7 separate regions of the Homo sapiens genome follow, and regions 1, 2, 3, 4, 5 and 7 are each linked to region 6. Evidence: promoter capture Hi-C in 16 types of primary human blood cells and fetal thymus (Javierre and others, 2016). All regions are on one chromosome and are shown on one strand. Each heading gives the region's core, a stretch centred on a gene start or on the middle of the fragment in contact. The rest is flanking DNA. Distances are from core to core; before and after follow the strand shown. Region 1 holds the start of TMEM256 (transmembrane protein 256). Region 2 holds the start of SPEM1 (spermatid maturation 1). Region 3 holds the start of EIF5A (eukaryotic translation initiation factor 5A). Region 4 holds the start of NEURL4 (neuralized E3 ubiquitin protein ligase 4). Region 5 holds the start of DVL2 (dishevelled segment polarity protein 2). Region 6 holds the start of ALOXE3 (arachidonate epidermal lipoxygenase 3). Region 7 holds the start of SPDYE4 (speedy/RINGO cell cycle regulator family member E4).

What was found. Contacts are between HindIII fragments. The CHiCAGO score rates a contact against its expected background, and 5 or more counts as called.
Region 1: the fragment with the promoter of TMEM256 here is called in contact with the fragment with the promoter of ALOXE3 in region 6 in 1 of 17 cell types (erythroblasts); the score reaches 5.5 in erythroblasts.
Region 2: a contact is called between the fragment with the promoter of SPEM1 here and the fragment with the promoter of ALOXE3 in region 6, in 1 of 17 cell types (naive CD8 T cells). The highest score is 5.1, in naive CD8 T cells.
Region 3: a contact is called between the fragment with the promoter of EIF5A here and the fragment with the promoter of ALOXE3 in region 6, in 1 of 17 cell types (total B cells). The highest score is 6.7, in total B cells.
Region 4: the fragment with the promoter of NEURL4 here is called in contact with the fragment with the promoter of ALOXE3 in region 6 in 2 of 17 cell types (activated CD4 T cells and non-activated CD4 T cells); the score reaches 8.1 in activated CD4 T cells.
Region 5: a contact is called between the fragment with the promoter of DVL2 here and the fragment with the promoter of ALOXE3 in region 6, in 6 of 17 cell types (activated CD4 T cells, naive CD8 T cells, total CD4 T cells and 3 more). The highest score is 9.6, in activated CD4 T cells.
Region 7: the fragment with the promoter of SPDYE4 here is called in contact with the fragment with the promoter of ALOXE3 in region 6 in 8 of 17 cell types (neutrophils, M0 macrophages, total B cells and 5 more); the score reaches 19.7 in neutrophils.

The regions. Positions count from the first base shown.
Region 1 is chr17:7,402,808-7,405,617 of GRCh38, forward strand. It overlaps TMEM256 (transmembrane protein 256), which reads right to left and starts at 1,290. Exons shown (of 4, transcript NM_152766.5): 1 at 1,193-1,290; 2 at 851-882; 3 at 503-583; 4 at 168-402. The coding sequence starts at 1,277. The coding sequence ends at 259. It overlaps TMEM256-PLSCR3 (TMEM256-PLSCR3 readthrough (NMD candidate)), which reads right to left and starts at 1,324. Exons shown (of 10, transcript NR_037719.1): 1 at 1,193-1,324; 2 at 851-882. It also overlaps a transcript of NLGN2 not described here. RefSeq lists an enhancer at 1,099-1,278 and a silencer at 1,769-2,098. The HindIII fragment of the contact is 6,317 bases long and covers 998-2,810 here.
Region 2 is chr17:7,419,031-7,421,730 of GRCh38, forward strand. SPEM1 (spermatid maturation 1) reads left to right here and starts at 1,294. Exons shown (of 3, transcript NM_199339.3): 1 at 1,294-1,498; 2 at 1,597-1,657; 3 at 1,851-2,602. The coding sequence starts at 1,355. The coding sequence ends at 2,575. NLGN2 (neuroligin 2) reads left to right here. Exons shown (of 7, transcript NM_020795.4): 7 at 1-830. RefSeq lists an enhancer at 778-1,297. The HindIII fragment of the contact is 12,172 bases long and covers 1-2,700 here.
Region 3 is chr17:7,306,227-7,309,027 of GRCh38, forward strand. It overlaps EIF5A (eukaryotic translation initiation factor 5A), which reads left to right and starts at 1,402. Exons shown (of 6, transcript NM_001970.5): 1 at 1,402-1,526. RefSeq lists enhancers at 1-527, 399-698, 528-1,338, 2,569-2,801 and silencers at 1,249-1,358, 1,719-1,888, 1,979-2,098. The HindIII fragment of the contact is 13,725 bases long and covers 1-2,801 here.
Region 4 is chr17:7,327,936-7,330,635 of GRCh38, forward strand. NEURL4 (neuralized E3 ubiquitin protein ligase 4) reads right to left here and starts at 1,400. Exons shown (of 29, transcript NM_032442.3): 1 at 1,096-1,400. The coding sequence starts at 1,377. RefSeq lists enhancers at 673-1,332, 1,315-1,609, 1,545-1,724, 1,755-1,804, 2,685-2,700 and a silencer at 1,105-1,344. The HindIII fragment of the contact is 8,367 bases long and covers 1-2,700 here.
Region 5 is chr17:7,233,214-7,235,913 of GRCh38, forward strand. It overlaps DVL2 (dishevelled segment polarity protein 2), which reads right to left and starts at 1,304. Exons shown (of 15, transcript NM_004422.3): 1 at 856-1,304. The coding sequence starts at 1,049. PHF23 (PHD finger protein 23) reads right to left here. Exons shown (of 5, transcript NM_024297.3): 5 at 1,825-2,627. The coding sequence ends at 2,413. RefSeq lists a silencer at 1,042-1,341 and an enhancer at 1,452-1,501. The HindIII fragment of the contact is 14,867 bases long and covers 1-2,700 here.
Region 6 is chr17:8,117,060-8,119,793 of GRCh38, forward strand. ALOXE3 (arachidonate epidermal lipoxygenase 3) reads right to left here and starts at 1,455. Exons shown (of 16, transcript NM_021628.3): 1 at 1,427-1,455; 2 at 785-1,244. The coding sequence starts at 931. It overlaps TRK-TTT3-5 (tRNA-Lys (anticodon TTT) 3-5), which reads left to right and starts at 2,096; the gene lies at 2,096-2,168. It overlaps TRQ-CTG1-5 (tRNA-Gln (anticodon CTG) 1-5), which reads left to right and starts at 2,693; the gene lies at 2,693-2,734. RefSeq lists enhancers at 621-1,820, 1,542-1,621, 1,702-1,771, 1,922-2,021 and silencers at 2,542-2,591, 2,722-2,734. The HindIII fragment of the contact is 2,695 bases long and covers 73-2,734 here.
Region 7 is chr17:8,757,175-8,759,949 of GRCh38, forward strand. It overlaps SPDYE4 (speedy/RINGO cell cycle regulator family member E4), which reads right to left and starts at 1,372. Exons shown (of 7, transcript NM_001394956.1): 1 at 1,100-1,372; 2 at 88-318. The coding sequence starts at 1,208. The HindIII fragment of the contact is 1,936 bases long and covers 1-1,832 here.

The DNA.
Region 1 (2,810 bases), core at 40-2,539, 710 kb before region 6:
TGACTTTGATGCCCACCAGGGTAAGAACATTATAATAAGTTAACTTAAAGTGACCAGAATCCCCAGACCTAAGGCTCACTGATTAAGTCTTAGGAAATGGAGGGAGTTCAGAGGTTGAATCCCCACCCTTCGTCCTCCAAGAGGTTAGATGAACAAAGACTCCAAAGTTTATTTGCCTTTCCTTTTTAATCCTCTTCTTACTCCAACTCTTTAAAAAAAAAACTGCCCAGAAAACCCAGTAATTAAGCAAAAGGGAGCTCAAAGAGCCAAGGCAAGCCAGCCCAAGAGTAGCAGGGTCCCTCCCGCAGGGGCCAAAGTCTGGATGCTGGGGTCTCCACTCAGAGCCTGGTAGTAAAAGCTGGTGCAGAATAAGGTCGTTCCGGAAGCTAGCAATAACCCAGCCTGAAGGAGACACAGCACAGAAAACAGGATTGTTAAGAACAGGGCAGGCTGAGAGGGAGTGTGTGGGGCTTGGTCAGGGTTAGGCGCAGGGAAAGATTACCCAGAGTGGCTTTCTGCAATGGGGCACCCCTAACAGGGCCAGGCTGTGTAAGAAGTGGTGTTTGTTGGCCTTGTCAAACAGCTGTAAGAAAAACAGAAACGAAGGGATGTCGTAGGCAATACAGGTACTGAGATCCCCTGATGACACAAGGGACCAAAGTTCCTTCCCCCACCCCACCCTTGAAGTCCCAGCTTGATCCCAGGCCTTTGGCTTACAGAGCCTTTGGCCTTTGCTGCTCCAGAGATCCGCGGCTCGCCCCACCCTCTCCCCGCCCACTTCCCCCAGGGACCCCAGACTTTGTGCCTTCGTAGACCCACGAGTCAGGGAGCCCCAGCGCAGTTACTTCACCTCCTTCCCGTAGGCATCTGGGAATTGGGCGCCTGTGGAGAAAAGAAGCAAAGGTTAGCGGTCCTAGTGCCAGCCCTGACCGCCCCCAATCCGGGGGGACCCAGGTGGACATTGGCGAGAAAGGGCACCCCCCCCCCCGCCCCAGGAAGCTTCCGATTGGTGGGAACACGCTCGGGCAGTACTGGGAACCAATTGGACCCAGCTGGGGGACTTTAAAAGGTTTAGGGCTCCGCGGACTGTCTGATAAACGAGAGGCCGGGCACCTCCCATAGGTTACGCCCTTGCAGCAGACCCCAGAGGACGCCCCAAGTACAGTCCCATCTTCGTCCCCAGCCCCCTGACCGTGCGCCCCGTAGGAAGCGAAGCCTAAGGCCGCAGCTCCGGACAAGGCGCCCAAGCGGCGGAAAGCTGCAGCTGGCCCGGCCATAGCTGTAGAACAGGACGCACCGGACCAACGCCGCCCAGGCCACCCAAGAGGCCAGCCAATCCCGACCGCCCATGCAAATAAGGTTCACAGGCGCCCAATCCGGGCCGTGTTCATTTCAGCATTGCGCTCTTCACCCGCCTTTGTAAAACCGCTGCAGAGTGGCGAAGACGTCTGGCGGGCGGAGAAACCAGCACCAATTAGGAACAGAGGAGCTAAGCAGTGGGGGGGCGGGGTTGAGGGCGGGACTAGGGGGATTTGCGTCAAGGATTGGCCCACTTTCCAAGTTGATCGCCTCTTCGAACCCCCCACCCCCATGCTCCGGCCAATTTCCAAAGATCCCGGTCTTCTCTCAAAGTTCCGCCCCTTTTTCCACAGGCTCCTCCTGTTCAGCTTCAAATCAAACCCACTACCAAAAAGAGGCGGCCCGAAAGATAGCAAAGCCCCACCTATTGCCAGTAAACCCCGCCCACTGCACAAATGGCCCCTCCCCCATGTCTGAAGGCTCCGCCTTCTTTGTATGATGCCCCGCCCCCTGTAGTTAAGATATTCTCCCCCCCGCCAGCCCTCCGAGACCGCGAGAGCCCCGAGGGTGGGAGATCCGGGGGAATGTCTCCACCCTGCCCTGGCCCGCTACGTCCATCTGTCCGTCTGTCCGCTCCCGCCTCTTCCCACCATCTCCAATCCCCCCATTCTCCGGAGGGCGGGCGGGCAGGCGGGTGCGAGCGGGGGGTGCGAGCGGGGGGTGTGCGCCGCTCTCTCGGCAGGGGGCGGGGGAGGCGGCCGCGCGGTGACGCGCGGGGCTGCTGCGGCTGCTCCGCCGGCGGATCATCACTCTCGGGCTGGGATGGACGCGGGGCGGGCCGGCCCTGGCGCGCGGAGCCAGGAGTCCGGGCCTCCCGGCTGCTGAGCGTCCCTCGAAGCCTCCCCTCACCCCCGCCTTCCCTCCTAGGATCCGCGCTGACCCCCGCCCCGGGGCTCTGGACTCGGCTCCCGCCCTCCTCTGACTCCCCGGACCTCCCCCTCACGCCCGCCCTCGGGATCGACTAGATCCCTCCCCCTCCCCGAGGATTCCGGCTGGATCCCTGCCCCTGCACCGCGGATCCTGCGCTCCCGGGCCCCGGGCCCCTGGGGATTAACGTGGACTCCTCCTCCAGCACCCGATCCTTAGGATCCTCCGCCTGGACCGCCTTCTGGTCCCTCGAAGCCGGCCCACGGAACCAGCGGATCCTCAATCTAGTCCTGTCCCGTTGCCCCCTCCTTTCTCTATCGTCCCTACTGCGGGGTTCCCTGTTCTCGGGCTCCCCCTGATCCCATCCCCTAGCTCTCCTTTTCCCGGGGATCGACTGGATCCCGGCCCCGCCCCCCGGGGCTGGGGCGATCCCCCTCCCCCGCCGGGTGAGGCGCTGCGGGCGGGGGCTGGGCCTGCGGGGCCGCGGGGGCTCAGAGGCCGCCGCCCCCTCCCGAAGGCCTTTCGCCCCCCACTCGGAGCCCTGGATGGAGGCACCACGGCCCCAGGGCTGAGCCAGGTAGGAC
Region 2 (2,700 bases), core at 44-2,543, 700 kb before region 6:
CCCACCCTGCCTCAGTTCTCCGTTCCCCTTCATCTCCGTCCCCCTCTTTGAAGCTGTCCCCATCTCAGTGTCAGACCAGCCTTCTCCTCAGCTGACCACCCTCCTCTGACCCACGCCCCCTCCTTGTCTGAAAGAAAGGAGCCTTGAATGGTGGAGGGAGGCAGTGGGGAGAAAGGTCTCACCGGACAGGTTGGGAGAATGAGGTCAGCGGTGCTGGGGAACAGATGGAGGGGGCAGTGGGGACAGGGCTTGGGCAGACACCAGCAGGAATAATTTGAAATGTGTGAGGTGACTCCCCGGAGGGCCTTGGGCTTGGGCATTTGGGAAAAGAATGATGTCTGGAAGGGCTTAAGGGACACAGTGGACGAGGGGAGAGTCCTCATCTGCTGGCATTTTGTGGGGTGTTAGTGCCAAACTTGAATAGGGGCTGGGGTGCTGTCTTCCACTGACACCCAAATCCAGAATCCCTGGTCTTGAGTCCCCAGAACTTTGCCTCTTGACTGTCCCTTCTCTTCCTACCTCCATCCATGGAAAATTAGTTATTTTCTGATCCTTTCCCCTGCCTGGTCTAGCTCCTCTCCAAACAGCCATGCCCTCCAAATGCTAGAGACCTGGGCCCTGAACCCTGTAGACAGATGCCCTCAGAATTGGGGCATGGGAGGGGGGCTGGGGGACCCCATGATTCAGCCACGGACTCCAATGCCCAGCTCCTCTCCCCAAAACAATCCCGACAATCCCTTATCCCTACCCCAACCCTTTGCGGCTCTGTACACATTTTTAAACCTGGCAAAAGATGAAGAGAATATTGTAAATATAAAAGTTTAACTGTTGGTTGTGCCTGCTCTGTTGTGGGGAGGGCGGTCTCTAAAGAAACAAGCCCTGGGGAAGTGACGAGGGAGGAGGGGTCTTTTCAGTGACCAGCTCTGAGGTCTGAGAGGAAGGGGGAGTGTGTGCTGGGGTCTGGTTGCCATGGTAATGGGTCTGTTTGGCAAATGAATGTCAGGACCCGTGTCTATGCCGAGACTGGAGCCTGGTGTCGTTCTATAATGGAAGGACAAAGGCTGATGGGGGCAGATGTCAAACAGGCCAGAGGCCCAGTGGGCTGGTGTAGGCAGCTAGCTCAGCAGAGGTATGTGAGGTGAGAGGCATGGCCTCTGCCAAGGCCTGGACTCAGGCGAGAGGGTCAGCCACGGGTCCAGGACTCAGGGTAGCCCCTTGGCACACTGGAAGGGAGTGGCCTGGCACCATTGTGACCCGTTCACTCCCAAGACCCTCAGGGACAGGCAGGCAGTCAGTGGACACTGTCGGCACGGTGGGCTGGGGGCGTAAGGGCCCCGGTGGTCCTAGGGACCCCATGGCCATGGTTGAGCGGCCGAGGCCCGAGTGGGCCTCGTATCACAACTGCAACAGCAACAGCTGCCAGGACCTGGGCAACTCTGTCCTGTTGCTGCTGGGCCTCATCATCTGCATTAACATTAGCATCAATATAGTGACCCTGGTCAGGGTGGGGCCAGATGGGAGGGAGCTGGTGGGATAGTGGGGGGCAGGCCTGCCGGCCAGGGCCTACCTGGGATCACTGTGTCTTCCCCCACCTAGCTCTGGAGCCGATTCCGTGGTGTCTTATACCAAGTGTTCCATGATACCATTTGTGAGAAAGGTAAGAGGTCTGGGGGCTGGGACATAGGAGGGGCAGAAACCAAGTGCTCTAGCCTCAGCCCTAAATTAGCCCCTTCCCTTCTTGCTCGCCCCTCTCAGACAACATAGCTGTGTGGCTGCCCTTCCTGGGCCCTGCCTCTCCATGCCTGTAGGAGCTGGCCTCCCCACTAGTCTCACCTCTCCCCCATCCACAGAAGCTCCCAAGTCATCATTACTCAGAAAGCAGACCCAGCCCCCTAAGAAGCAGAGTTCTCCTGCAGTCCATCTTCGGTGCACCATGGACCCTGTGATGATGACTGTGTCCCCGCCCCCAGCTCACCGCCATCGCCGTCGAGGCTCTCCCACACGCTGTGCTCACTGCCCAGTAGCTTGGGCTCCTGACACTGATGACGAGAAGCCTCATCAGTACCCAGCCATCTGCTCCTACCACTGGGATGTCCCTGAGGACTGGGAAGGCTTCCAACACACTCAGGGGACCTGGGTTCCCTGGTCTCAGGATGCCCCAGAGTCCCCTCCCCAGACCATCCGCTTCCAGCCTACCGTAGAGGAAAGGCCCCTCAAAACAGGCATATGGTCCGAGCTGGGCCTAAGGGCCTATGTGTATCCTGTGAACCCCCCACCTCCCAGCCCTGAGGCTCCTAGCCACAAGAACGGTGGGGAGGGGGCGGTGCCAGAGGCAGAGGCGGCTCAGTACCAGCCTGTCCCAGCTCCCACCCTGGGCCCAGCAGTCATCCCTGAATTTTCCCGGCACCGCTCCTCAGGCCGAATAGTGTATGATGCCCGGGACATGAGACGGCGGCTTCGGGAACTGACCCGGGAGGTGGAGGCCCTGTCCGGCTGCTACCCCCTAGCCTCTGGATCCAGCACTGCCGAGGAGACAAGCAAGAATTGGGTGTACCGTTCCCTAACTGGGAGGTGACTGGAAAAAAATAAAAAGGAGAGAGGAGGTGATCTGTGGTGGTGCTGGGGTGCCAGGGCCCACACAGCACCTAGAAGCTGTGGCTGTGAAGAGAATGCTCTCCCTAGCCACAGGGCCCTGAGCCC
Region 3 (2,801 bases), core at 152-2,651, 810 kb before region 6:
AGCTGGTACAGGCGCCCACCTCCACGCCCGGCTAATTTTTTTGTATTTTCAGTAGAGACGGGGGTTTCACTACGTTGGCCAGGCTGGTCTTGAACTCCTGACCTTGTGATCCGCCCGCCTCGGCCTCCCAAAGTGCTGGGATTACAGGCGTGAGCCACCGCTCCCGGCCTACCACTATTTTATTTTATTTATGTATTATTTATTTATGTTTTTGAGACTTGAGTTTCGCTCTTGTTACCCAGGCTGGAGTGCAATGGCGCAATCTCGGCTCACGGCAACCTCCACAGGAGAAGCGATTCTCCTGTCCCAGCCTCCCGAGTAGCTGGGATTACAGGCATGCGCCGCCACGCCCGGCTAATTTTGTATTTTTAGTAGAGACGGGGTTTCTCCATGTTGGTCAGGCTGGTCTCGAACTCCCGACCTCAGGTGATCCGCCCGCCTCGGCCTCCCAGAGTGCTGAGATTACAGGTGTCAGCCACCGCGCCCGGCCCACCACTCATTTTTATAGACAATTTTTTCTAAGGGACCTCGTAGACAATACTTTGGGGAACCGCAGAGCACAGTTGGGGAAAACACAGTAATACCATCTAAGTTTCTTTACTGAGGACCTCAGAGCCGAATGGCCTCTATGGATGCCATAGAGACCAATACGGACTGAGGGTTTAAAGAAGATGGTGTCCGCCGCAGGACCGCTCTATCTTCTCGGGTGAACTCTATGGCAGAGCATAGGCATTCGATTTAGAGAAGTGAAGCCGAGATGGGTGGGAACCCGACCACACTAGCGCGCTAGAAGAGTGGGGCGGAAAGACATCTCCCGCGCATGTGTGGAACTGGGGGGACTGATTCCAAGACAAGGCGCCCACCCCACAGAGCAAGTTTTCTGAAACGTGTGAGTCGTTTAAGTCCAGTTAAAGCCGAGGTGGGGCGTATCCTGAGACGCATGCGTTCTAGACGAGACAAGTGATCTAGCGGCGTGGTCTTTTCAACGCCTGGCGTACTGACGGCGTCTGAGGTGGAAGGGGTTGTTTAGGATTCCGAACACGCATGCGTTCTGAGACCCAGGCGTTTCCTTTAGAGGGTGTGGAGTGCAGGGCTCCTTATTGCGCAGGCGCAAGGACTGCCCGGTAGGACGAGCGGTCTATCAAGGGGAGGGAAGATGAGGTTGAAGAGATTAAAAAACCGGGTGCGCCTGCGCGTTGCAGATTAGTTGAAAACGCTCAGGGTTTGTGAGGGGCGGGGTCACGTATGCGCGTCATTGGACGGGTCGGTGGGAGGGAGGGTGGAGATGGGTAGGGTGTGTGCGCTTGCGCAGTGCGGGGGTGGAGGGCGGAGGAGATAGATAGCACGCTTGCGCGGCTGTCATAGGGCTGCTTGGTTGGTCAGTGGGGAGTCGGCGCCTGCGTACTAAGACCCGTGTGCAGCAGCGGCGGCGGCGGTAGAGGCGGCGGCGGCGGCGGCAGCGGGCTCGGAGGCAGCGGTTGGGCTCGCGGCGAGCGGACGGGGTCGAGTCAGTGCGTTCGCGCGAGGTGAGAGCGGGCAGGGCGCGTGTGCGCGGTACCTTGGCTTGGGCCCGGGAGAAGATGGAACTGCGCGGGGGTCGGGGAGGGGGCAGAGGGGAGCGGCGGCCGCCGCCGCACGGGTTCGGCCAGAGAGCGGCGCGAGGTGAGGAGAGGCGCGGGCGCGCGCCCCGGTTGGCGCGCGGGGTGACGGTTGGGGTTGGCCCGGTGACGTTGGAGCGACGCAGGGCGGGGGACGGCGAGCCGCGAGGCAGCCACGCGGGAGAGGCCGCCAGGCGGCCACGCCGGGGCGAGGGCCAGGGGCCAGATCGGCCCACCGGGGCAAGGGTACCTGGGCCGTTGAGGACCCGGCTCAGCGCGGCCACGTGAGGTGGGGGAGGGGGCTATTCGGTGAGAGGGCATGATGGGGGGGGTTGGCGGACGGCCGGGGGGAGGGGAGGCGGCGTGGCTCCGGCCTGGCGCAGTCTCTGAGGAGGGGGCGGCCGCGGCACCGGAAGTGCCCCCCACGGGAGGCTGCCCTCGGGGTCGCAGGCCGCATGGCCAAGCGTGGACCGGGGCCGCATGGCAGCGCGGGGACCCCTCCCCCCAGGTCCCGGCCACCGGAAGCCCGGAACGGCCACATGGTCGGCAGGAGCCGGCAGCCCCTAGCGCGGGGAGCTAGTCCTCGCGGGGGTTCCGAGGGGGCCTGAGATTTTGAGGAGTGGAAGCCGGAGGCTCGGGTCCTAATCACCCCGGAGGGCCTGCTGCAGGCATATGTTAGCGCTTCCCAACCTCAAGGGCCCCAGGAGCTTTCCTGAAAAACCCTCCTGTGAAGTGTGGCGGTCAGCCAGGTGTAAGTGGCACCCCTTCGAGCTGGGAGGCCGGAGAAATGGGGAAACAGGGCGTTTGGACAGGAGCCCAACTTTTCTGTCGGCCTGGGTGGACAGCGCCTAAAAGCCTCAGGCAGATGAGTTTCCCACCGTGATAGGCGTTCTTCACCTTGTCACTGTCTTCCTGTTGTAACTGGTTTGGGAGTTCCACGGTTTCGAAGTCCTTAACTCTACTAGCCTAGTATGATTTTCTACTACTCACTACTACCAACCTTTTGCTTTCATTTTATTGTCATTCACCACCCCCCACCTCTCCCACTTTCTACTGACTGTACTGGCCCGGCCTGAAAAGCCGACAGGACAGATGCATCCTGGGAAAAGTGGGAGGGCCTTCCAGGAGAGGCTGGGTTCCTGGGTTCTCTTTGGGAACCAAGATCGAGGTGTTTGGCAGGGGGATCATTTCGGAAACAACTTT
Region 4 (2,700 bases), core at 150-2,649, 790 kb before region 6:
CAGGCCACCATATCTTCCCACCTCTCAGACAGCTAGCTGGCTTTCTGTCTCTTGGAACACTAATCCAGAGATGCAGACAGTGATTTTCTGGACTCCGTCTTGGTAATTATTTGGGCTTTCCTTTAGCAACTCTGCTCTCTACTCAGTGTTTACTAAACCACTCCTTTCCAAGCCAAGCACAAATTCCTTGGTTCCAACCTCCTGCCTCCTCTAACTTTCCTTGTCTCTATGGCTCTCCAACCATCCAAATTCTCCTACTTCCTATACCCACACCTCTTGCTCTTGTGTATCATTCATTCCTTTCCCCTGGCCTAATTCTCTCCAAAGATCAGGCTCTACCCAGATTCAATCTCCTTCCAAGTTCTTTTTCTGTGAGCCTGGCCTCTTCACTGAATCACACACACCTCCCTCACCCTGGATCTTTCTCCTCACCTATCTTTCTGGCACAGCCTCTGTCCTTCAATGGTTTGTTCTGTTTTTTTGAGACGGAGTCTCACTCACTCTATTGCCCAGGCTGGAGTGCAATGGCATGATCTCAGCTCACTGCAACCTCTGCCTCCCGGGTTCAAGCCATTCTCCTGCCTCAGCCTCCAGAGTAGCTGGGATTACAGGCGCACGCCACCATGCCTGGCCAATTTTTGTATTTTTAGTAAAGACGGGGTTTCACCACGTTCACCAGGCTGGTCTCAAACCCCTGACTCTAGTGATCCGCCCGCCTCGGACTCCCAAAGTGCTGGGATTACGTTTGTTCGTTCCTTGGCATCTTTCTTCACTTGCCATCACATCTCTGACATCTCTCCATCCTCCATGCCCAAGAAATTGTACCAGGAGGTCTGTTCCCAGCCATTCTAGTGGGTTAGCCCTCGTGTCCCTTCCCTGGTTCTGGATCTTGAGAAAACTCAAGCTCTTAATGTCATCTTCAAACTCAATGTTTCTGCTTCATGCTGTCTTCCTGACCGCCCCCTGGTGCTCTATGGTCTTTCTGTTCCCTCTCGGTGCCCGGCAATGTGGGCTACCCTGGCTGTCCTACCCCGTCTCCCTCTAGACGCCTCCCACCACCCTCCACATCTCTGTTCCGCGGTACCAGCGCTGCACCTTGCGGTCGATGCGGACGGTGAAGACGCGTCCATCGCGCAAGGGTTCTCGGCTCAACACCAGCCCGTGGTTAAACTCCTGGCCCGGCTGCTGCCGCCGCGCCGTACGCCCACAGGCCGACAGGCTCACCAAGCGCCCAGTGCGCGGGTGCAGTTCCCCGCCGCTGCCCAGACCCCCGTTGGACCCCGGTCCTGAGCCGCTCCCGCTGGGGCCCCCACCCCCGCCCGGCCCCGGTCCAGGGCCTCCCCCAGAGCCCCCACTCCCACCCGACCCTGCCGCCATCTCCGCTGACACCGGGGCAGCGCGACAGCCGCGCTTGGCGGCACCGTGGCAACCGCGTCGGGCAGACAGTCCGAGGGATACGACCGGGGGGCTGAGGCCAGGTATGCTTTACGGCACTGCCGGGCAATGAAGCAGCCCGCGCTAGGAGCTGGGGACGACCACGATGAGAACAGAAGGACACGGGGTCGGGAGCCTCGCTTTACGGCATAGCGAGGTGACGGAGCGGCTCCGAGGGGGACGAAGACCTGGGCAGGGAGCTTTTGCGACAGTGGGAGAAAGACACGCCCACCGCAGGCATCTTTACGACGGTGGGGTGCTGGAGCCCAAACACTTTCTGCTTTGCGACAGCGGCACCGACGACCCCGCCCTCGCTAGGGGGCGGTGACACCTTGAAGCACTCGCTTTACGGCAAGAGGGGGTGTCTCCCCTCGGGATGCAGGCTCCAAAGCAGCGTGAGCCGAGTCTGGAGGACCCAGAGAAGCGGTAGTGAAAGTCTCTTCCCGCCACCCGACTGAGGACGAAGTGTCTTGCAACAGTGCGGCAGTCCTTCCACTTTGCCTCACACCTCTTCTGATTGGCTGAGCTAGCCGACTGGCGGGGGTGGGGGAAGCTCGCTGATAGTTCAAGTCAAGCCCAGCTTCAACTCCAACTCAACCAAACTATTCCATGTTAAGACCACAAAGAGTCTAAAGAAGTCCCGACAGGCCGTTTCAAGCGACAGCGTTGATGACCCCAAAAGATCTCCCTTAGAGCTATTAACAAGCCCCCTGCCCAACTCCCCGAAGCTCAAGCTCAGGCTGGAGGACCGTGAGGTCACAGTCGAAGCTCCTGGCCTGGCCCCCTGACTGGGATTGGCTGGTTTGGATGAGGGTGGTGATGGAGAAGGGCGGGAACAAATTGCCCAGACAAAGAAAATCTTTGGGTGGGACACAAAGGAAAGGGGCGAGCGGAGGGACCCCCAGCCCGAGTCTCTATATAGTCTTGATTCCGCCCGCCGCAGCTCTGGAGCAGGGGAGAAGTGGACCCGGGACTGAGCCCGAGCATCCCCGGCCGGCAGCGGTGGGGGCGGGGCCAGGGGCGGGGCTACGTGGAGCCGGGAGGCGGGTCAGGATCGCTGAGAGCAGCCCCCCAGTGGGGCCATGGAGAAGGTGGAGTCCCTAGGGGCTGCTGGCGGCCTCAACCGGGATTCCCCTGGAGGGGCAGCCAGAGGAGTGCCCGCAGCGGTCACAGGAGTCGAGGCAGGCGCTGGGCAGCCCTCCAGAGTAGTCTTGTTTCACGGTTCTGGGCCCCACGTGCACTCAGGGGGCTCCGTAACTCATAGTA
Region 5 (2,700 bases), core at 54-2,553, 880 kb before region 6:
CCAAATTACCCTAGGATAGCCCAATCTATTCTAGCACAGCCTACAATGCCCCCACACGCAGCTGTCTGCACCAGTCTAGATTGGAACATCCCAATACGGCTGCCTGTGCTAGCACAGGCCCCAACAGCCTTGTCTGCCCCTATACCGAGTGCTCCAATAAAACCAAGTCTTGCCCCAAGAGAAACCAGGATTAACCAATACAACCCAGTAGAGTCCATAATGGCCCAAGTGTTTTTTGTTTTTTTTCTGAGACGGAGTCTCGCACTGTCGCCCAGGCTGGAGTGCAGTGGCGCGATCTCGGCTCACTGCAACCTCCGCCTCCCAGGTTCAAGAGATTCTCCCTGCTTCAGCCACCCAAGTAGCTGGGACTACAGGCGCGTGCCCCCACGCCCGGCTAATTTTTTGTATTTTTAGTTAGTAGAGATGGGGTTTCACCGTGTTAGCCAGGATGGCCTCGATCTCCTGACCTCGTGATCCGCCCGCCTCAGCCTCCCAAAGTGCTGGGATTACAGGCGTTACAGGACTCCTGAGAACGTACTAAACAACCAGACAATGGATCAATTTACTCAGTACAGACTAGAATACTCCAACATAAACCAGTATGCCCCCACCTATTCCAGTAAAGCCTAATCTTGTCTAATCTGGTTTAGGATATCCTAGTCTGTCCGTGTGCCTCAATCTATCCAAGCATAACCTTGTCCATCCTGGGATAGTCAACCTACCTCAGCATAGTACAATCTGCTCCACCATAGGCCAGAAAATCCCAGTGTGGCCCAAAGTAGACGTGTGCCCCTCCATGTCGCCCAATCCACTCTAGCAAAGCCCCCGCCGGTCCTATCTAGGCCTTGCGCTCACCCGAAATCCTGATCCATAGACTTGAAAAAGTACTTGGCGCCCGCGGGCCGCTGCAGGACGCTCTTGAAATCGCCGAGGGTGATGCGCTCGGCGGGGACAGGGATCTTCACCAGGTAGGGAGTCTCTTCCTCATCCAGGTGGTAAATCACCTTCGTCTCCCCAACCCCACCGCCCCCAGTGCTGCTACCCGCCATGGTCTCGCCCGCGCGCTCCCGGGCTCCACCGCCCACCCAAAGGGCTAATGGCCCCTGCCGCGCCTGCGCACACCCGCAAACCGACGCGCGAGCGCGGACAGGACTGACCCAGTACGGGAGAGAAGCAAAGGGGAAAAAGCACGGATCTGCGAGGGTGGCGGCGGGGGGCGGGCCGCGGGGTGCGACTCAAAGCCCCGGTCTCAGCGGCCGCCGCGCGCCACCGCCACCGACGCCGCGAGCTTCCTCCAGGTACCCGCCCACCTCTCCTCATGTCACGTGACTTAAAGGCAGCCACCCCGCGCTCCTCAGCCGCCCTCCGTCACGTGATCCCCTCCCAATCACGTGACCGTCTGACTCCGCCTAGTGCCCCCGCCACATGATCGCTGCCTTCAGCAACGGTCTCCCAGCCCCCAAACGTGTACCCCAGCCGAGGTCCTCTGAGCACCCAGGCTAAGCTGGCCTGTGCCTTCAGGAAACGGACCATCGGCTCCCACCCCGCTTTACCCCACCCACGATGGAGCACGAAGCAACTCTGACCCGCAGGAGTGTGCGTGCAGGGAGTGAAGGTGGGGACTGTGGGGGTTCCTAGACTCGAGTGGGGAGGGCCAAATACAATGAAAGCTCTAAGGTGGCTTACTTGTCTTGGGGTGGGAAAGGCCCAGTGCTGTGATATCTTCAGATTGGACTTTGAGACGTGGGTTTCAGCCCCACCTCCAGCTAGTCTTCAGCCACCAAAGCCTCCCTCCCGAGCAGGACAGTGAGGGCTATAAACACAAAAGAGCCCACTCTGCTTTATTTACAACACGCAGGCTGTCTGTACAAACAGCGGCCGATATTATTAAAAACAAAAGAGGTGAGTGAGAATCGTCACCTTTCTGCTTTCCTTCCTCACTTGGCCAGGCTCTAGTACTCCACCTTTGAGCTGCCATGCCCAATAGGGGAAGTCCAAAATTAAAAATACAACCGGTGTAGAAGAAAATAAATGGGGAGTGAAATAGAAGAAAAGATGAGGGAGGGGAGTGCTAATATTTACACTAGAGTTTTATAGACAACTGTCCCATTCCATCCCAATTCCAATCCTGACCCAGAAAGTGATGGTGGCAGGTCCAAGAGACAGAGATTATGTGTCGGGACACAGACAGCCTCCCATCCCCAACCGTAATGGATTCAATTTCAAGTCCACAGAGTGGGGAGGAAGGATAGGGTGGGAAAGTGAGACACTCATTTTCAAACAAGTCTCCCTTGAGAATTCCTGCCTTGAAGTGCAGACAGTATCCAAGCTCCAGGGGATAGGCTGAGGACCCTGAGGCTCAGTTCCCAAATCATGTTGTCATTTGGAAGTTCCAGGCTAAAGTTGGTGCCATCAGGGCTCTCCAGATTTGGGAGGCCCCCCTAACCGCCGGGCCTCTGGCCTCAGTTCCTTGCATTTCTGGCAATAAAAGAAGTCGGGGACGTTGGTCTTCTTAATCTTAGCACAGGAGAGGTGGATCCACGTCCCACACAGGCTGCACTCAATCATGGGCCGCCCTGCAAAGGGCTTTCGACAGTAACATGTGATCAGATCCCATGAGTCATCACCTGGGGAAAAAAAGGTTTGTTTGGTATTCTGCCTGAGCTGTTGGATCCACAACACCCTCAAACCCCTCGCCCC
Region 6 (2,734 bases), core at 205-2,704:
ACCTAAGCCTATTCGGGCATACAAACCTGAGCTGCTCCCAGCCCATACCGGGCTTTTGTATGAATTAGAAAAAGCTTCCCCGGGCCGGGAGAGGTGGCTCACGCCTGTAATCCTAACACTTTGGGAGGCCGAGGCGGGTGGATCACCTGAGGTCAGGAGTTTGAGACCAGCCTGCCCGATGAAACCGCTTCTCTACTAAAAATACAAAAAATTAGTCGGGCGTCGTGGCAGGCGCCTGTAATCCCAGCTACTTGGGAGGCTGAGGCAGGAGAATCGCTTAAACCCGGGAGGTGGAGGTTGCAGTGACCTGAGATCACACCACTGCCCTCCAGCCTGGGCAACAAGAGCAAAACTCCATCTCAAAAAGAAAAGAAAAAGGTGCCCGAGCACAGTGGGCACTGCATTTCACTAGCTTCCTAGGCCGGCTGGGAACTCTTGTGGAGGCCACCTGGGGCTGGCAGAGGCAGGCAGATCCCCTCGATAAGAGGAAACCCAGGCTCAGAGAGGGGAAGCGACTTGCCCAAAGCCCACGGTCAATTATGGGAGGAGTTTAGGAGCCAGGGGAAGTCCCTCTACTCCCTGTCCAACGCTCCTTCCTCTCCACAGTCCTGCCTGGATGGAGTTCATCATCTCCAGGAAAGACAGGGACCTCAATAGGGAAGGTGAGGAGGTCAGGGCCGGTATCCTGAGTTCAGCAGGATCTCAAGAGTCCAGGAGGAATACTCCTCCCGCCTGCGGCCCCTGCCCCTCTGAGGTCGCGCTTCCCTGTCTCCTTTGTACTCACCGATCCAGGGGCGAAGTCCCTGCCCATTCGATCTAGCCGCTGCTTGGGGCTTTCACCACACGTGCCCACCAGTGTGACAGAGATGTTGTCCAGTGTGCCGGCCCTCAGGTAGGGACCAGTGGTCACACACAGGCGGTACACTGCCATGATGGGAAGGAGGAAGGGATGCCCCGGCAACGCTGGCCGCAGCAGCAGCCGGCCTGGAGGAGAAGAGCGGCACGCCGGACAGGGCTGGGTTTCTGGGCGGAGGGCTAGGGGCTGCGGGGCTGGGTAGGGCTGAGGATGGGCCCAGCTCTCTCTGGGATGTTCCTGGGCTTTCTCTCTCCGAAGCTCCCTGCTGGCGGCTCGGGCTTCCTCTCTCCGCCCACAGTCTTGCACTCTAATACTTGTTTGCTTGCCTCTGACACAGCCGGTCCCTCTGGCTGGCTCACCCAGATGGATATCAGGAGCCTGGGTTCCACTGCGGAGGGAGGGATCAGATGCTGAGATGGAGAAAAGGAGGTAACGCCTGTATAATTGGGACACTGCCCTCCGCCTGGTCAGCGGCCCGGACTGATGCCCTGGAGTGCTTGTCCGCCCACTCCCCAATGTCCCCCAAGATCTGTTCCTCCCCATTCCCAGGCAGAGATGAGCACAGGGCACCTGCATTCCTACGTGTGAATCATCCGTGTGAATCACTAAACAGTGGAGAGTTGCACTTGGTCATAAATCACACGTGACTGCAGCCACACGCAGGTGAGTCGCACACGCATTCCAGCACATGTCAAATGGTCAGGAACAGCTCCCTGTCACCCCATACACCGATCCCCCCACGCATGGCCCTCTTTGTCCCCAGCCTTTGGCACGCCCGACCTCATTCTCTGCTCTGGAGTAGGGCAGGTCAGGAAAGCGAAATACAGCGCCGGCAAACAGGGTCTGAATGCCCCGCGTGGCATTCTTTCCGCTCCAGGACCGCCCTGGGCCTGCAGGATCCTGGGCGGGAGCCCAGGTGTCCGGGATCTGGGCCACTAGGGACTGGGGAGGAACCTCTCAGAGAAGCCCATAGCCCGCAGCGGCCCCGCGCGGCCGGTTCCGGCGCCGCACTGTTCCAGCCTCTACTATGGTACAGTCCCTGCGTCGCAGCCTCGGCGGGGGCTCTAAGAACGGGAGGCAGAAAAAGCTCAATCAGCAGCAGGCGAGCTTCACCCGCTGCTTCCAAATCTGTGCCAAAATATTCTATGCTGCACAGATAAAATCCTCTGTCGGTTCTACAAGCCTGGCTTTTCCTATAGAGAACCCTCTTATAAGCAAAAAGTAAAGCTCTCGTGAAGAGCCCGGATAGCTCAGTCGGTAGAGCATCAGACTTTTAATCTGAGGGTCCAGGGTTCAAGTCCCTGTTCGGGCGGCATGTCTTTGCTTTTGGGTACCGCACTTCGCATAAAATGGTAACAAAAATAGTTACTAGTTTTTAAAGCTAGGTGATACAGAAACTTGATTTCCACAAAATACAGCAAACGACGGTGGAGGGTAATAAACATACTTTAAAACAGTACAAACGCGAGCCGTATTATCGAATTTACATTTTCTGGTAGCCACATTACAAAGAATAAAAAGCAAGCGAAATTAATTTCACGGATCTATTTTACTTACCCTAATATACCAAAATCTTATTTTAACATATAATCAACATTCTAAAAATATTAATGAAATTTTAAGTCTTTTTGTTTGTACAAAGCCTTCCTTCAAAAGAAGATGTGTATTTAGAAGCTGGCAATACATCTGAATTCATATATTTCAAGTGCTCGATAACGGTGTCTACCATATCCAACAGCAGACTTTGTTTTGTTTTCGTTTTAAGTGACGGGTGTGGAAGACACGCAAAATAGAATGTCCAGTAATGTACACAATCTTGAAAGACACCACGAGGGAGGTTCCATGGTGTAATGGTTAGCACTCTGGACTCTGAATCCA
Region 7 (2,775 bases), core at 122-2,621, 640 kb after region 6:
TCTTCTTATTGGGAAAGTGTGATTATTGAAAGATTCCACTTTTTTAAAAGAACAGGGTTGGAGGTGCTTTTTGGGGTATCCTCCTACCAAGGAGCCTGTTGAAGGCCTCGTGGTGCTCAGGGAGCACGGAGGATGCTCGCTTTCGCTTCAGCTTCATCTTGAGCCCACACAGCGTCTCCACCACCCAGGTGTCCTCGGGCTCAGGGGCGCGCTCCAACTCCAGCTCCTCCTCCAGCTCCTCCTCGGATTCGTCTGACCATTCGCTCTTCCTTTTCAGGCCAAGGGATTGAGGCTGGGGGCTGGGATCTATCCAAGGGGCTGAGTGAAGAAACCAGGCCATGGTGTCATGTTTCTGCCATTGATCACCTTAGACGCCCCGACCCAGGAACCTCAAACTACTCTTCCATCCTCCCAAGCCTCGCAGACTGTCAGCTTCTCCAAGCCATGTTTCCACCTTTCTCCTTTGCTGATCCCCATCTGCCTCTCCCTCACCTCCCCATTCTTCCGGCTCTCTGTCCTCAAAACATTTCCTCATCACAGATAAGAACTTTCAATTGGAGAAAAATGGAAACCTTCCCTTGAGCTCTGTCTGCTCTCTCTCTCTCTCTCTCTTTTTTTTTTTTTTGAGATGGAGTCTCCCTCTTGTTGCCCAGACCGGAGTGCAGTGGCACAATCTTGGTTCACTGCAACCTCCGCCTCCTGGGTTCAAATGATTCTCCTGCCTCAGCCTCTTGAGTAGCTGGGACTACAGGCACGCACCACCATGCCCAACTCACTTTTGTATTTTTGGTAGAGACAGGGTTTCATCGTGTTAACCAGGATGGTCTCGATCTTCTGACCTCGTGATCCGTCCGCCTCGGCCTTCCTCTCTCATCTTTTGAGCACATCTCCTGACCCCCTTCATTGCTCCCCAGACTTTCTTTACACGTGGCCATGCTTGGCCCCATTCCCTGCACCCTCCTTCCCCGATCCCTGGCTTCCTGAGTCCGTCGTTTCTTTCCCACACACCCTACTCAGGTGCTTCAGATTCCCAGTAACTGGCCCCCTTCCCTCTCCTCAGTCAATCATCTCCCATCGCTTCTCCCTCCAGTCACCTCACCTGATGGTCCTGGCACTTCATCATCCACCACCACCTCGGGGGACCGTACCGTTGTGCTAGGCTGGGGGCTCTCCTCCTCAAACGGGGGGCGCGCTTGACCACTGGCCATAATCTCTCCCAAACACTTTGTTTCTGTCCACAAAACCTAGTCCCTGTTCTGTCCAAAGCCTTCTTCCAGACTCCGTTAGGACCCAGAAGAGTGCGTTTCTCTTCTAGAGGCTCGGGAGAAGTTAGGAGTGAAGAGTAGTTCTGAGAAGTTGCTGTTGTCCACCTGAACTCCCAAGCAACCAGAGTCCGGTCCTTCCAATCAGGAAAGTCGGAATCTCTGATGTCATCGGTCATTCCAAACTGGCAACTACTTTGAAGAAAAACACATGTAACTGCCAGACTGATCTCTTTTCTTGGAGATCCGGGGTGAACGGTATCTCCTGGCAATGTCCCAACCTCTGAGCATTGTCCAAAAGCATCCTCAGGGTCTCCACATTCCTCTTTTCCCTGTCCCAGCAGAGGCTGTGTCCTCTCCACTCTAAACTTGAGGGGGTGTTGGGCTCTCCTCCCCGCTTCTCCTTCCCATTTCAGAGTCTAGTCTGGTGAGAGAGGGAGGAAGGTGGAAGGAAATTTAGGGTAAGCAGAATGATGAGTCCTTCCAAGAGTGAGATTAACATATACAGGAGATCCTGGGTAAATTGACTTGTTGAATGGAGACGTTACGTCGAAGTACTCAATGTGGCAAAGCTTTTTTGCTGAATGTTTACTGATATTCACTATCCTGGATCCTATAGTAGGGGAACATGCATCCTTTGCTCTCAGGCATCTTTGAGTCCAAGAGACATTTTGAGGAATGAAAATCACAGGAGACTGTCCATGGTTTCGTACAGATTTTCAATGGTGTCCACAAGTTCAGGGCATCCATGGATCACCTAAAGCCTGCCCTCCAGTTCAGCTAAGGAACTCTGGTCTATATATCAACTATTACAACATATCTATTTCACTTGACCCCAAAATTTGCCTACTATTTATGTATTTTATGAATAAAATATCCTGTGTATAAAAAGACTAAGGGGAAAATCTCAGCCAGGCCCAGGGGCTCCTGCTCATAATCTCCCTCCTTTGGGAGGCCAAGGCAGGGCGTCACTTGAGGTTAGGAGTTCAAGATTAGTCTGGGCAACATAGCAAAACGTCATCTCTACAAAATATAAACAAAGTAATCAGGAATCGTGGCACACACCTGTGGTCCCAGTACTTGGGAGGCTGAGGCAGGAGGATTGCTTCAGCCCAAGTGTTTGAGGCTGCAGTGAGCTATGATTGCACCACTGCACACCAGCCTGGAGGACAGAGTGAGACTCAGTCTCAAAAATATTTTTTTCGGAAAAAATAAAAATGTAAGAGCTGGATACTATCTCAGATACCATCCAAAGAACCTGTGAGTTCTGGCACAGCTTCCTAATGGGCTCCTAGGAGTCTCTCGCTGATGGGAAAGGCACAACTGAATGAGGAGGCAGATCCCGTCGCTGTGGAAGTCCAATTGTTAGGAAACTCTGCTTACATTGAGTGGACCTTCGCATTCACGATGCTTTCAACCATCAGAACTGGTTGGATCCTTTTACAACAAAACAGAAAATCATCTTTCTCTCCTATTTAATAGGCTTTCAAACATTAGAAGATCAATATTCTGT